3 separate regions of the Homo sapiens genome follow, and regions 1 and 2 are each linked to region 3. Evidence: promoter capture Hi-C in 16 types of primary human blood cells and fetal thymus (Javierre and others, 2016). All regions are on one chromosome and are shown on one strand. The core of a region is centred on a gene start or on the middle of the fragment in contact, and the rest is flanking DNA. Distances in the headings are between cores, read along the strand shown. Region 1 overlaps PALM2AKAP2 (PALM2 and AKAP2 fusion). Region 2 overlaps PALM2AKAP2 (PALM2 and AKAP2 fusion). Region 3 holds the start of C9orf152 (chromosome 9 open reading frame 152).

Region 1 (4,680 bases), core at 1,786-4,285, 330 kb before region 3:
TTTGGGAGTTCCTTCTGTCCTCCTTTCAGAAGCCCCTGTCAAGTTTCCCTTTGTCCAGCTGCCAGCTCCCCACCTGCTCCTTCCTTGTATTGACTTGCCATGATGACATTCGTTTGACAAATGTGAAGTTTGACAGTCCTTAGCACCTTGGGAGGAGTTTGAGACCAGCCTGGCCAACATGGTGAAACCTTATCTCTACTAAAGCTATGATACTATGTTAGCTATGATACTTTTTTTTGATGTATGTTATTTAGACAATAAAGGCCACAAACAGAGAAAAGTTTTTTTTAATTTTAATTTTTTTATTTCTATTGAGCTCTGCTTCCGCTAAATTCTGAAACACTGAGGCAGCCAATACAAGCTAGCACAGTATAGGGGACCCTGTGCTTTGGATGGTGCACTCAGTATACACCATTCCATTTGGAGACATGTTGGAGACAACATAAGGGGGATCTGGAGTCAGTTAAGGAAGCCTTTTGAATTGGTGATTTCCCCTGAAAGCATGACTTTGGAGCCAAGTAGAAAATCAACTATGCTTTTTCGGCTTCTTAAAAATGTCTAAACACCTTTGTGAAACAGGATTCTCTGAGACCAGGCCCACTGCCTTTTCCAGTTTTTTTTCTTTCTTTCTTTTTTTTGAGACAGAGTCATGCTCTGTTGCCCAGGTTGGAGTGCAGTGGCGTGATCTTCGGCTCACTGCAACATCTGCTTCCTGGGTTCAAGCAATTCTCCTGCCTCAGCCTCCTGAGTAGCTGGGATTACAGGTGCTCGCCACCACACCCAGCTAATTTTTGTATTTTTAGTAGAAATGGTGTTTCACCATTTTGGCCAGGCTGGTCTCGAACTCTTGACCTCAGGTGATCCACCTGCCTTGGCCTCCCAAAGTGCTGGGATTACAGGCATGAGCCACCACACCCAGCCCCACTACTGCCTTTGTCTGTTGGAGCCTCTCTTCCTGGCTCCTCCTGTTGGGATGTTCTTAATGATGTCATGCCTATATCAAGAAAAGAGATGGAAGTAGAGGGACATGCACCTCTGGGTGACCAGAGTCACCAGGCTGCTCTGGCCAGAGCTACCTGCTGATGGTGGCAGCTAAGTTGGTGAGAAGTGAGGGGCTAGACCCTTCATGTGATGGCAGGAGGCACTGTGTGAAGAACAGCAGAGAGAACATTCCAAGAGCAGCCATTTACGTTGCAAGAAGTTGTGGCTGCAGAACATCCCTGCTGGTGTGGAGACAGCCAGGACTGTCCATGGCTGCTTTTCCAGAAGGGTCCACACCAACGCCAAGGCTTCCAGGATGTCTATCCCCCAGAATCCTAAGGTTTTTACTATCTGTGGTTTGGACATCTTTAGCACAGGAAGCACCCTGAAAGTGTGGTCCCTACCCCTCCCAAATAATTAGAGAGAAGGAAAGTTGAGAATTTCCCAGTTCATCCATTTACTCATTCATTATAGGGAATTGGGCTACAATTCCATTGACTGAATGAATAAATGGATGAATTGGGAAATTCTAGGTGACACAGTGAATGTGAAGGTGGATAAAGGACAGTCCTAGCCTTCCAGGAACCAGCAGGCTACAGGGGGAACAGATGTAAAAAGAAAGAATTTGAGGATAGTATGAAAGGGCCATAGAGTGTGTCTCAGAGCCAGTAGAGGTGGAAGGCTTCTCTGGTGGTATTTTACTTGTTCTTTCTTAGGTAAATAAAGCAGAGGCCAAGGGAACAGGATGGACAACAACAATAGTAAACATTTCTATAGTACTAAGTATGTGTGTGGCCCTTTTAGCCTATAAACTCCTTTAATCCTCATAACAACCCTCTGAGCTGGGCACTGCTATTTTCTCCATTTTACAGATGAGAAAACTGAGGCTCAGTGAGGCGAAGGAGCCTGTCCAAGCTCACTCAGCTGGTAAATGGCAGACTGGTTCCAGAGCTCAGGCTGTTAGCCACTGTTCAGCATGGCCTCTTGCAGTCTCTACCCTCTTCCTGAGAGTAAATTTCAGAGCCAAGTTATAGTTCAAGAAAAGCAAAGCAATAATCATTCTTCTACTTCAGAATTGCTACCAATGAACAATTTATTTTGTGCCTACAACAGATTAAGTATCTGAATAAAAATATAAAAACATGAATTGATTAAAAAATGGCCTCTCATAATGTGCAAAACAGGGTCTGTCGGGGAAATTTTGAGAGGTTTTTGTGGAGAACAATGGTTCTGAATGTTTTGTAGAAAGAGCAACCGATTTGCCCCACCCTTTCCCACTTTCCAATGGAAAAGAATCTCTGATAAAGCTTTGATAAGCAACCAACGTAAGCAAATTGTACTGCCCTCTTTTACACATGATTTTATACTATCATACGATGCCCTATAATGTAAAAACTGTACATTTTAATACCTACCCTGGTGGTAGATGCACACTATTTATACAGAGCACATTCAACAGGCAGCATGTCACCAGTGATGCATAGCTGTTTACGCATATTGAGGTGTGGGGGTGGATCCTGTCTATAATCACTGTAAGAGTATAGTTAGGAATAATTCTATGTGAACAAACTCAAGTCTTTAAGCCTAATTATTAAAAAATTACAGGTCAAGTACCATAAATTTGCCTATGTGCTGCAAGAGTAATCAAAGAGATCTCTACAAACAATGATTTGTAATGAAAAGGCAAGAATAACATCAATAAAAACCATGGTCACCTGAACCCACACTGATGATGTATTGTCAACACAGAGTCTCTCCTGGAAGTGCAGGAATTCCAGGTTGATTGAACTTGCTCCTGGGCATGGAGCAGGGTGTCTACAGCACCAGATGACCCCTGGACTTCTCAATAGAATGGTGAATCAGGACCATTAGTGAAGTCTAACTTACTAATACTAAGTGTTGGTAATTTTTTTTTGAGACGGAGTTTCGCTCTTGTTGCGCAGGCTGGAGTGCAGTGGCATGATCTCAGCCCACTGCAACCTCTGCCCCCCAGGTTCTAGTGATTCTTCTGTCTCAGCCTCCCAAGTAGCTGGGATTACAGGCGCATGCCATCACACCTGGTTAATTTTGTATTTTTAGTTGACATGGGGTTTCTCTATGTTGGTCAGGCTAGTCGCGAACTCCTGACCTCAGGTGATACGCCTGCCTTGGCCTCCCAAAGTGTTGGGATTACAGGCGCGAGCCACCGTGCCCAGCCCAGTGTTGGTTATTTTTAAAGACTCATCAGTTCATAATAAAATGCCCTTAATGCCGCATACAAATGAGAGTCTATGGAATTGTGCATCCTTCGCTCATAAGAGCTTCAGGGAGTGCTCCAAGCCTCCATTCCCTGGCTCTCAGTCTTTAGAAGAGTTCTTTCCTTTCACCTCGCTCACCCTGCCTGATGAGATCAAACGAAATTCTGGACAGAGGTGATGCCAGTGAGCCAGGGAGCCAAAGAGCCAGGTCTTTATTCTGTGTTAGGTGGCTTAATAGTCATTGCTCCTGCTGTTCCTTTCGTTGCTTACTATTTCTGGGAAGAATTGTTCATGTGCCCTGCATCCTCACTGTGGTCCCCTCTGGTGACCACTGACCTGCCCATGGGCATGGTCACTGGTCCTTAGCCATGATGTACAGGGTCAGTAGCTGCTGCCGTCTGCCATCTAGGGACCATATAAGTGGAACCTGAATCAAAATTATCCTCTCACATCTACCTCTCCTTGCTCTTCCTTTTAGGGAATTTCAACATGCTTTTTTCTGGAACTGTTTTCATTTCCCTTCTCAAAGCAGTAATTGCTGCCTCCGAACCATTGACCTGAAACAAAAGCTTTTTATTCCACTGTACTGTATCGTAGTACACTTGCAAACATGGGATGTATGGTTTTTTTTTTTTTTTTTGACAGGGTCTCGTTCTATCACCCAGGCTGGAGTGCAGTGGCACGGTCACAGCTCGCTGCAGCCTTGACCTACCTGGCTCAAGCGATCCTCCCACCTCAGCCTTCCCAAGTAGCTGGGACTACAGGCGTGCACCACCACACCCAGCTAATTGTTTAATTTTTTGTAGAGACAAGGTCTCACTATGTTGCCCAAGCTGGTCTACAACTCCTGGAATCAAGCAATCCTCCTGCCTCAGCCTCCCAAAGTGTTGGGATTACAGACATCAGCCACGGTGCCCATCTAGGGGCATATGATTTTTATAACATTTGGAGATTATTACTGAAGATGATTGGGAGTCATTAAAGAAGGGAGTCATTGAAGAAGAGTCTTGACAATCTTTTTAAAACACTTTAATATGGACCAGATATTAGGTGGTCTTAGGAAGTTTTTTAATTAAATTACAGTTGCATAGAAAAATGTTCTTAATTTTTAGAGACTCATACTGACATATTGTTGGGTAAAATATGGTTGTTATTTAGTTTAAAATCATTTGATGAGAAACATATGGGAAAATATGGCAAAATGTTCATAATTGTTAAATCTAGATGAGGTTACATGGTCATTCATTATACAGTTCTATTTTTAAATTTTTTTAATAATAGAAAATGATATAGAGATAAATCTCCTTGGGTGTTGATCTAGAGGGAAGTAGGGAGCCATGTTAGTGAGGAGGTGAAGGCAGCGATTCAGGCAGCGCTGGTGAGGGGTGGAGCTAAAACAGCACCACTGCAGAGGGAGAGGACAGTGTGGACTGAAAAGTATCATCTTGTCTGTTGTCTTCCC
Region 2 (4,410 bases), core at 220-2,719, 350 kb before region 3:
AATAAAACAATTAAAAGTAAATAACTACAGAAAACAATACAAAGCTGGCAGTTCCTTCTTTTACAGATAGATGGCAAGCTCAAGTCCAAATAATCAGTTGAAGAAAAGAGAAGTTATGTAGATGGAAATGCTGGTCCAAACTAAGGGATGAGGAATAAATAGAGTTGTGGAATTATCCACTTCACCTGGTGATGTTGCGGGTTAAATGGGTACATGGCTAGGCAGAACAATGTAGAAAACCTACCTTACTTGTTCTTCTGACCAAGCCTTTTAAGGCTGTCATTTAAAATGGCTCTGAGTTCTGTTTCTTAGTTTTGTAGGATCAGAAAATCACATGCCAACTTAGCTTTCAGCTACTTATCTACAAACCCAAGTGTCTATTTATTTTTCAGTGGATGGACACTGCAGGGGTCTTAGCAAGTACCATCTCTCCATTTAGCTAACTACATAGGAAGCCTGAATAGAAATCAGGATTATGATTGGTGATCTTGAAGACAGAGCCAGGAGAGTGAGTTTTAATATCTGATGGTGTTGAGATGAGATAACTGATCTCGAACAGGGATGTGTCTGCTGAGCAAACTCAGCATTACTTGTTAGCTGGACAGGCGATTGGACAAAGCTGAGTGAGCACCTCTTCAATTTTTTTTATGCTTGATTACTCAGGTTTTCAGTTTTTAGACAGACTATTTTTCTTTTTTTTCCCCTCAGATGTATAAATAGCATTGAATCTGCAGTAGTGTTAGAAAGGTAATTATAACCCAACCATGTCTGAGATGACATTGTGATTTCTTAATAGAAAAAGCTTGTTGGGTCCCCACTTGCAAGTTGATTTTTCATAATTTAATTCTCAAAATGTCACCTTATTTCTTGGTGTAACCCAGATAAAACCTAGGTATCCTGGCAATCCAGTTTCAGCATGAAGTTATATTCAAAGGAACACAGGCTAGTTGGCCAAAGTAATTTCAGTATCCTTACTGGAATCTTCTGGAGAACATCAGAGGGGATTCATTTTATAAGCCACAGTAAAATATCTCAAGATTCTCTTTTCCTGATTTCCTGGCCTTAATATCTCAGCCTTTTCATTTTAAACTCTTGAACTTTAAACTGTCTCTGACCCCTTTCAGTGCTTTACTTCTTCATCTCTTCTTTCCTTTTCTCGATCATTTTTCCCCCTAAATAGCATCCCCACCCATTCCCTTTCCAAGTGCAACTATATAAAACAGTCTGTTTCTCGCAGTTTTTCAGTACTTTACCTCTTTCTCTGATTCTTCATTTCAAAAGCCTAGGAATCCTCTGGCAAAAAGTCACTTAAAAGGTTTGGGGCAAGGAAACAAGATTCCCTTTAGCTCACATGGAAGGAAGTCAAAGCTGAATTATCTTCATCTAGCAATAGAAAGAATAAAGATTGCAACGTTTACAATTTAATATATTTTCTTTACCCTCCTCTTGTCTAAATTCTGTGATCTCATGATGGCAAGAGGGCCTTGAGTAGGTCTTCTGGTCCCTTCCCACTGCTGTGCCCTGGGGCGCGAGGTATCAGCGCAAGCTAGAATGGGGGTTCAGTGGAGGAAAGGAAACACCCTATTTCTGCTTCTGACTACCTTCCCTGCTTAGCCTCTTTCCCTGTCTCCCTGTTTCTCACACACTCAGTTGGGACACCCACCTTGTCCACAGCCACAGCCTGGCATCTCCTAGTGCTCCAGTTGCAGCACAGTCAGCAGGAGAGAAGAGGGAGTCTCAAGGAGCAAAAAGGTGGAAATAGGCTTTCCTAACAACAGGTGCTTGCCATGTCTGTCTTCTCATCATATTTATTGAACAGAATGTGCTTCATTCTCTACGGGTGCTCTTTAACAATAGTTTACGTGTTATGTTACGAACATGTTATGATTATAACATGTTCTATCATGTTATAATCCTTCCAGAAAATACTTGCCAGGAAAATATATAATTTATAGAAAGTGAATGAAAGTGGCTTGTTAGCCTTCCCAGATAGTGGAGGAATCTGGAAGTCTTTCTAATGGATTGAGATCACGTCATTCCAGATGTCTCTTGAGGCACACTGCCCCGAATGGTTGCTACTGTCAGCTCATTATGCTTTTCCCTGGAATTTCCACTTCCCCCGCCTTTCTCCCCAGAATAAGCTTTCCATGATTCTTTCCCAGAATTAGCCTTTTCAACTCTTTCCTCATATGCATAGCAACAGTAATTTATTTCATGTGGGTTAATGTCTTTAGCATTAGGACACTTCTGGTTTTATGGACTGATGGCCAATGTGTTTTTAATAATGTATTTTGCTTCTATTGAAGTCATGAGTACAAATTCGTAATTCATTTGAATGAGGGATATGGACAAACAGGAACACAAGTGGAAGAGAGAAAAAAGAGGATAGTACACTCAGAGATACTCAGTAAGCATAAATTACATGTATTCATCATACAATATTCTAGGCTTTAGAGATGTGTCAGCCAAGATCCTTGTCCTCAAGGAGCCCATAGTTTGTTAGAGAGAGAAGATGTGTAAATAGTTAAGTGTATAAAGTGCTACAGTGCTTGAGGTCTAATGTAGAAAAATCCACAGCCTGTGGGGAGGGAAGAGAAAGGAGGGAGTGATGCAATCTATTTGGAGGGAACAGAAAAATCTTCTGTATTTGTCAGTACTCTTTGAGTTGTAAGTGGTAGAAACATCACTCAAACTAGCTTAAGAAAATGGGAGATTTATTAGTGTATATAATTTAGGAAGCCTGGGGATGGTTCTGGCTTCATGCATGACTAGATCTGGGACTCAAACAATGTAGTAGGACCCTTTTTTCTCTTTCAACTCTGCCTCCCTCTGCATGTTGACTTTATTTTCTTCAATGTAGATGCATTTCTTTTATGTGACTTGGAAAAATTGCTACTCAGAAGTACATCATCTCAGCTTAATCCTAGTGGTATGTTTTTTCACTTCTCTCCTGGTATCCGTGTGTCTGTCCCTAGAAATGTCTCTAACTGGTGTTTCTCAGTTCACTTAGCTATCCCTTGGATCAATAGCTATTGCAAAGAAACGAGGTAGCATGATTGGCCTAACCTGGCTCACAAACAAGTCCTAGTGGCAGGAATGAGCTAACCATGACTGGCATTTCCACCAGAGCCATTTACAGTGAGGGTAGATGTGTTTCCCCAAAGGAAAGAAGACTAGGCAGATCAAAATTGACAGATGTTCATTAAAGCTTCATGGATATTTAAACTGTGCCATCATAGATGAATTGTTTTTTGTCAAATGAAGCAGCAGTGCACATCGATTATTGTTAGAGGAAGCAATAAGAACAAAACTAAGAGGACATGAACCAGCCGGGAAGATCAGGAGACTGCAAGTAGTCTTTGAGGTTGGATCATGGTAGGGGGCCATGGCTTGAGATGAAGCTGTGAAATAGACAGGAGCCTCACTGGCTATGCTAGGGAACCTGCTCTTTGCACTGTAGGCAATGGGGAGACATCCTTGGTTTTAGGCAAGGGTCGGAGGTGGTCAGATTTCCATTTTAGAATATCACTCTGGCAGCAGTGTGGAGATTGAGTTGGAGAAGCCAAGAATGGATGCAGGGAGACTAATAAGGAAACCACTACAGTAATCCAGCTGGAGATAAGTTCTGTAATGTGCTAAAGATGCTAATATGGAATAGTCTCCATGTCCAGGTAGGAGATGAAGGAAGGAGGGTTAAGGCAATACTCAAGGTTATAGTGGGGAAGCAAAAGATGTGGAAACTGGCCAGCAGAATCAACATGACTTGGTCTTTCAAGAAAGTAAGTGTCTAGGATGACTTAGATTTCTGACTTAAGTAGTGTCATTTGCTGAGATGAAACATAGAAGAAGGAACAGGTGTGAAGGTAGAGGGTGGGGGATTGCTTGAGATGGTGACTGCATGTGTTTGAGTTTGGGGGAGTGACTATGAATAGTTGGCAGTTCAGTATAGGGATCTGCAGCTCAAAGGAGAGGTAGAGTTGTAGAGTGGATGAGAATGAAGGCCCGAAGAGTTACTGGTTTTGTCCTGGTTAAGGGAAGGAGAAATCTGGAAACCAGTGGGCTATCCCGGTGAGGAGCACAGCTCAGACCTCAGCCATCAAACAAGTATCAGAAACTGCAAGTGAGTTCCTTAATGGTGTCCTATGCAAACTTGTTGTCGTTTGACTCATATCTAATTCTGAGCGTAGGCTGGTTGCCTCTTGTCCACCTAGAAGTGACTTTAAGACCATCACTATGGGCTGGGTTCGGAGGCTAACACCTATAATTCCAGCACTTTGGGAGACTGAGGTGGGTGGATCACCTGAGGTCAGGAATTTGAGACCAGCCTGGCCAACATGGCAAAACCCCATCTCTAGTAAAAATACAAATATTAGCCAAGCGTGGTGACACACACCTGTAATCCCAGCTACT
Region 3 (4,491 bases), core at 1,414-3,913:
GTGATCTTGTCCTCAGCCAGTCAGTGCATAAGGCCTTGATGAGCTTTATACATATTAGTTCATTTTATTCCTACAATAACCCTATGATTTGGGTACTACAGTTATTCCCAATTGACAGGTGAGGAAACTGAGCCCCAGAAAATTTATGTAACTTGTTTAAAGCTGCATATTAAGTAAATGGCAGAGCTGGGACTCAAACTCAGGCTGTGCTCCAAGACCCAGTACATGACCACTCCATTACACAGTATGCTGCCTCTCACAGTTAGATAAAGAATGTGGAACTCAGCCAAGTATGGTGGTTCACGCCCAGCACTTTTGAAGGTCGAGGTGGGTGGATCACCTGAGGTCAGGAGTTCAAGAGCAGCCTGGCCAACATGGTGAAACCCCATCTCTACTAAAAAAAATACAAAAATTAACCGAGCATGGTGGCAGGTGCCTGTAATCCAGCTACTCAGGAGGCTGAGGCAGGGAGAATTGCCTGAACCCGGGAGGCAGAGGTTTCAGTGAGCCGAGATTGCACCCCACTGCACTCCAGCCTGGGCAACAGAGTGAGAATCTGTCTCAAAAAAAAAAAAATGTGGAACTGCAAACTGCTGAAAGTGCCCTGAATGACCCTGACCTAGCTGGGAGGTCAGAAGTCTTCTCGGAGAAAGCCACACCTGGGCACTCCTTGCATGAACCATAATTTAGCACCTAGTAATGATGGGAAAGGGGGTACCGAGTTACCAAGAGCAGGAGAAAGGACGAGCACAGGGTATAGTGAATTCTCTGGGGGCATGTTGAATTTGAGATGTCTTTGGATCATCCCCACTAAGCAATTAGATTTGTGAGTCTGAATTGCAGGTGTATTAAGCATTGTGTTTCCATTTGATAGGGATTTAAATTGATAAATGTTTGTTGAATAACTGAATGAATAAATACCCTCAAGGGTGGGATAGAGCTTTAGGAACCTTTCAGTTTATGCCCTGCAGAGATGGTGACTGTTTGGCTGTGCCAGTTCACTCCTGCCAGGAACGAGGATTCCATTGGTTGGCAACAGCCCAGGTAATGGGAGATGGGCTCCTTCAGCTCAGAGGTGCCACTTTTGTTCCCAAAAGGCAGCACACTTCCTGCCCTAGACAGAGAGGTCCCTCTGGCCCCTGATTCCTGCCCAGTCTGGCCTGGCAAAGGGCAGCCCAAAGAGTCTACTGAACTCTACAAATAACCACAGAATCCCACAGAGCCCAGCTTTGACCTTTCAGGGTATCTTCCCTTCTCCCTCAACCTGTTCCTCTGTTAGAGGAGGAAGGGCTGGGATTTGACATGCCCTTGCTTTCTGAGCCCTGTGCCTCTAACTCCCTCCTGGAATGAAATCTGAGTTCCTAAAGGGAGGAGGTTTCTCCCCATGAGGGGGTTTCTGTGTCCAATCACACCTCCCTGCCTGATGTTTGAGGCTGGATGAGCCTGGGATGCCTCATGGGTCTCTGAGCCCTAGGCGTCCTCTGGCCCAGACAGTTCCCAGGCTGTTGGGAACGCCATGTCTTCTACCTCCAGAGTGAATTTCTCTGGTTTGTAGGAGGTGCCTTAGTTAGACCCAGCCAGGAAGCAGAGCTCCTATCGCCATACCTGGGCTAGCAGGGGGGCCAAGCCTGGCTCACCAGGCTGACCAGTCTAGCAAGATTAGAACATCAGAGCAGAGGCCAGGAACAGTGCTGGCAGCCAGGTGCTTGGCTGAGGCCCCTGGCTCCCTTAGCAGGTGGGACAGCTGAGCAGAGCTGCCCTGAGCCCGCCTCCCCTGCTCTTCCCCACTGGGAGGGAGGGCTGGCAAAGCCCTGGCTCTGCCTCCCTGCAGCTCTGCCACTCAGGTCTCCCATGGTAAGTCTCTCCTTCCCCAGCACCTGTCCATTCCTACCTTTTGGAAGCACCAGGAGGTGGGCCTGGGTCCTCTGCTGCCTCTTCAAGCCTTCATACTGGGCTCGCAGGAACTGGATGCTGAGTGGGGGCCCTTTCCCAGGGGCCTGAGTCCTGGAGCCCTCAGCCATTAAGTGAGACCTAAGCTGCCAGAAGTGGGGCAGGGCTGGGCACGGGCAGGGCAACCCCTCCATCCGGATCCGGGAGAAAAGCAAACACAGCTGGGTGGGGCAGGACCTGGGGAGGGGAGAGAGAGGGAGGGGGCAGTGAGGGAGAAGGAGAAGTGACGGGCAAAAGGAGGGTGGAAAGAGGAGTGGGACTGAGGAAGGAGATAGAAAAATAAGGGGGAAGGAGAAAGATGAAGGGGAAGAGGAGGTAGGGATAGGGAGAAATGTGGGGGAGGAGAAAGGTGGGAGACAGTGGCAGTAAGAGGAGAAGGAAATGTCAGAGGAAAGAAGGGGCAGCGAAGGGGGAAAGACTGGAGGAAGGAGGTGATAGTGACAAGCGGGGATTAATGGGGCGAGAGAAGAAAGAGAGGGAGGAAGATGGAGACAGGCAGGAGGAGGCAGGGAAAGGAGTGATGGGGAGTGGGAGACCGAGAAGTAAGGGGAGGACTGGGGGAGCAAAGAGAAAGGCAAGCCCAGCTGCTCAGAGCCCTTCAGGGGGGTCAAGAAGGTGTCTTATTCCAGGTCCTTCCATTGCTTGATCCTAAAGTTTAGAATCCAATTCCCAGTGCCACGGTGAAGTCTCCCCTTTCCTGGCAGAGCTGGGACTGGGGCTGGGGAGTGCTAAGCTCGCGCTCTGCTCACACATTTTGGACTGGAACGTGGCCACTTTTCAGCAAACCTGCCGGTTGGGTTTGCAGTAGTTCAAAGAACACCCTCGGGAGCTTCACAAGGTCGGTGCCTCTGGATGTGTGCCCCGCGGCCACACCCTAAAGAAACCCAGTAGCAAAGATCTCCCCAAGATCTCCACTCAGACCCCAACACACACCCCAGGTGAAAATTCAGCCCTAAAGTCAGCCATGGGACAGAGCCCAGGGGAATCTTGGCCTCGGGCCAGCCCTACCCCTTGGACATTTGGTGCAGCCTCTGCCGTCTCAGCATTCTCCAACCAAGTGGTAAGTTAGGCATCCCCTCACTCTCTGCTTGCCAGCCTCAACATTTCCACATTGCTTTTGAATCCCAGACCCTCTCCCTCTTACACCAGCTTTGACCTAGCCTTGCTGCATTTGGTCAACTAAGTCCCTTTCTATCTTCTCCTATCACGGTGCTTACTGATTACCCAATTACCCAATATGTCTACAGAGGCAATGGAAACAGAGTAGAGCCTGAACCTACAAGACATTTTGGACATTAACCAGACAAGATCTAGTCATTTGATGTGGGGGAGCCGTGGAAGATGGAGAGCAAATCTTCACTGGGTAGTATATGTTAGTTTTGCTAGGGCTGCCATAACGAAATCCCACAAACTGGATGTCTTAAACAACAAACATTATTGTCTCAGAGTTCTGGAGGTTAGAAGTCCAAAGTCAAGGTGTGAGCAGGGTTGGTTTCTTCTTGGAGCTGTGTGAGAGTATCTGTTCCATGCCTCTCACCTTGCTTCTGATGGTTTGCTAGCAATCTCTGGTATTCTTTGGCTTGCAAAAACATTGCCTAATCTCTGCCTTTATCTTGACATGATGTTCTTCCTTTTTATTTTTTTATTTTATTTTTTTTTTGAGAGGGAGTCTCACTCTGTCGCCCAGGCTGGAGTGCAGTGGCGTAATCTCAGCTCACTGCAAGCTCTGCCTCCCGGGTTCGCATCATTCTCCTGCCTCAGCCTCCCGAGTAGCTGGGACTACAGGCACCCGCCACCGCGCCCAGCTAATTTTTTGTATTTTTCGTAGAGACAGGGTTTCACCGTGGTCTCGATCTCCTGACCTTGTGATCCGCCCGCCTTGGCCTCCCAAAGTGCTGGGATTACAGGCGTGAGCCACCACACCCGGCCTAATATGATGTTCTTCCTATGTGGGTGTCTCTGTGCCCAATTTTCCCCTTTTTATAAGTACAGCAATCACATTGGATTAGAGCTCAATCTGTCTCAAAAAAATACCGAGAGAGATAGCCAAAGCTTCCTCATACCTTTTTATCGGTAGATCACTCTATCATGAAGGCAAGAGCAACCCATCCATGCTGGACCAGCTGCACCTGCCATGAAATCATGGCAGTAGACATCATGGCAGTAGGCTGGCCACAATGGCTCACAACTGTAATCCCAGCACTTTGGGAGGCTGAGGTGGGTGTATTGATTGTGCCCTGGAGTTCAGGACCAGCCTGGGCAACATAGTGAAACTCTGTATCTACAAAAATTAGCCAGGCATGGTGGCACATGCCTGTAGTCCGAGCTACTCGGGTGGCTGAGGTGGGATGATCACTTGAACCCAGAAGCTCGAGGCTGAAATGAGCCATGATTGCACCACTGTACTTCAGCCTGGGTAACAGAGTGAGCTCCTGTCTCAGAAAGAAAAGAGAAGAGAAGAGAAGAGAAGAGAAGAGAAGAGAAGAGAAGAGAAGAGGAGGAGAGAAATAATGGCAGTAGAAATTTCTACTATATTTTCGC

Evidence for each region. The method cuts DNA at HindIII sites, captures the fragments that hold promoters and counts their contacts. A CHiCAGO score of 5 or more calls a contact.
Region 1: a contact is called between a fragment that was not itself captured here and the fragment with the promoter of C9orf152 in region 3, in 3 of 17 cell types (naive B cells, endothelial precursors and total B cells). The highest score is 8.0, in naive B cells.
Region 2: a fragment that was not itself captured here is called in contact with the fragment with the promoter of C9orf152 in region 3 in 1 of 17 cell types (total B cells); the score reaches 6.8 in total B cells.

What each region holds. Positions count from the first base shown.
Region 1 is chr9:109,875,859-109,880,538 of GRCh38, forward strand. All of the region lies in intron 2 of PALM2AKAP2 (PALM2 and AKAP2 fusion), which reads left to right. Among named protein-coding and RNA genes, the nearest start is that of PALM2AKAP2, 98 kb to the left of the region's middle. The HindIII fragment of the contact is 1,499 bases long and covers 2,287-3,785 here.
Region 2 is chr9:109,859,562-109,863,971 of GRCh38, forward strand. The region is part of intron 1 of PALM2AKAP2 (PALM2 and AKAP2 fusion); the gene reads left to right. Among named protein-coding and RNA genes, the nearest start is that of PALM2AKAP2, 82 kb to the left of the region's middle. The HindIII fragment of the contact is 1,339 bases long and covers 801-2,139 here.
Region 3 is chr9:110,205,496-110,209,986 of GRCh38, forward strand. C9orf152 (chromosome 9 open reading frame 152) reads right to left here and starts at 2,664. Exons shown (of 2, transcript NM_001012993.3): 1 at 1,892-2,664. The coding sequence starts at 2,084. RefSeq lists enhancers at 1,333-1,833, 1,834-2,334. The HindIII fragment of the contact is 8,259 bases long and covers 1-4,000 here.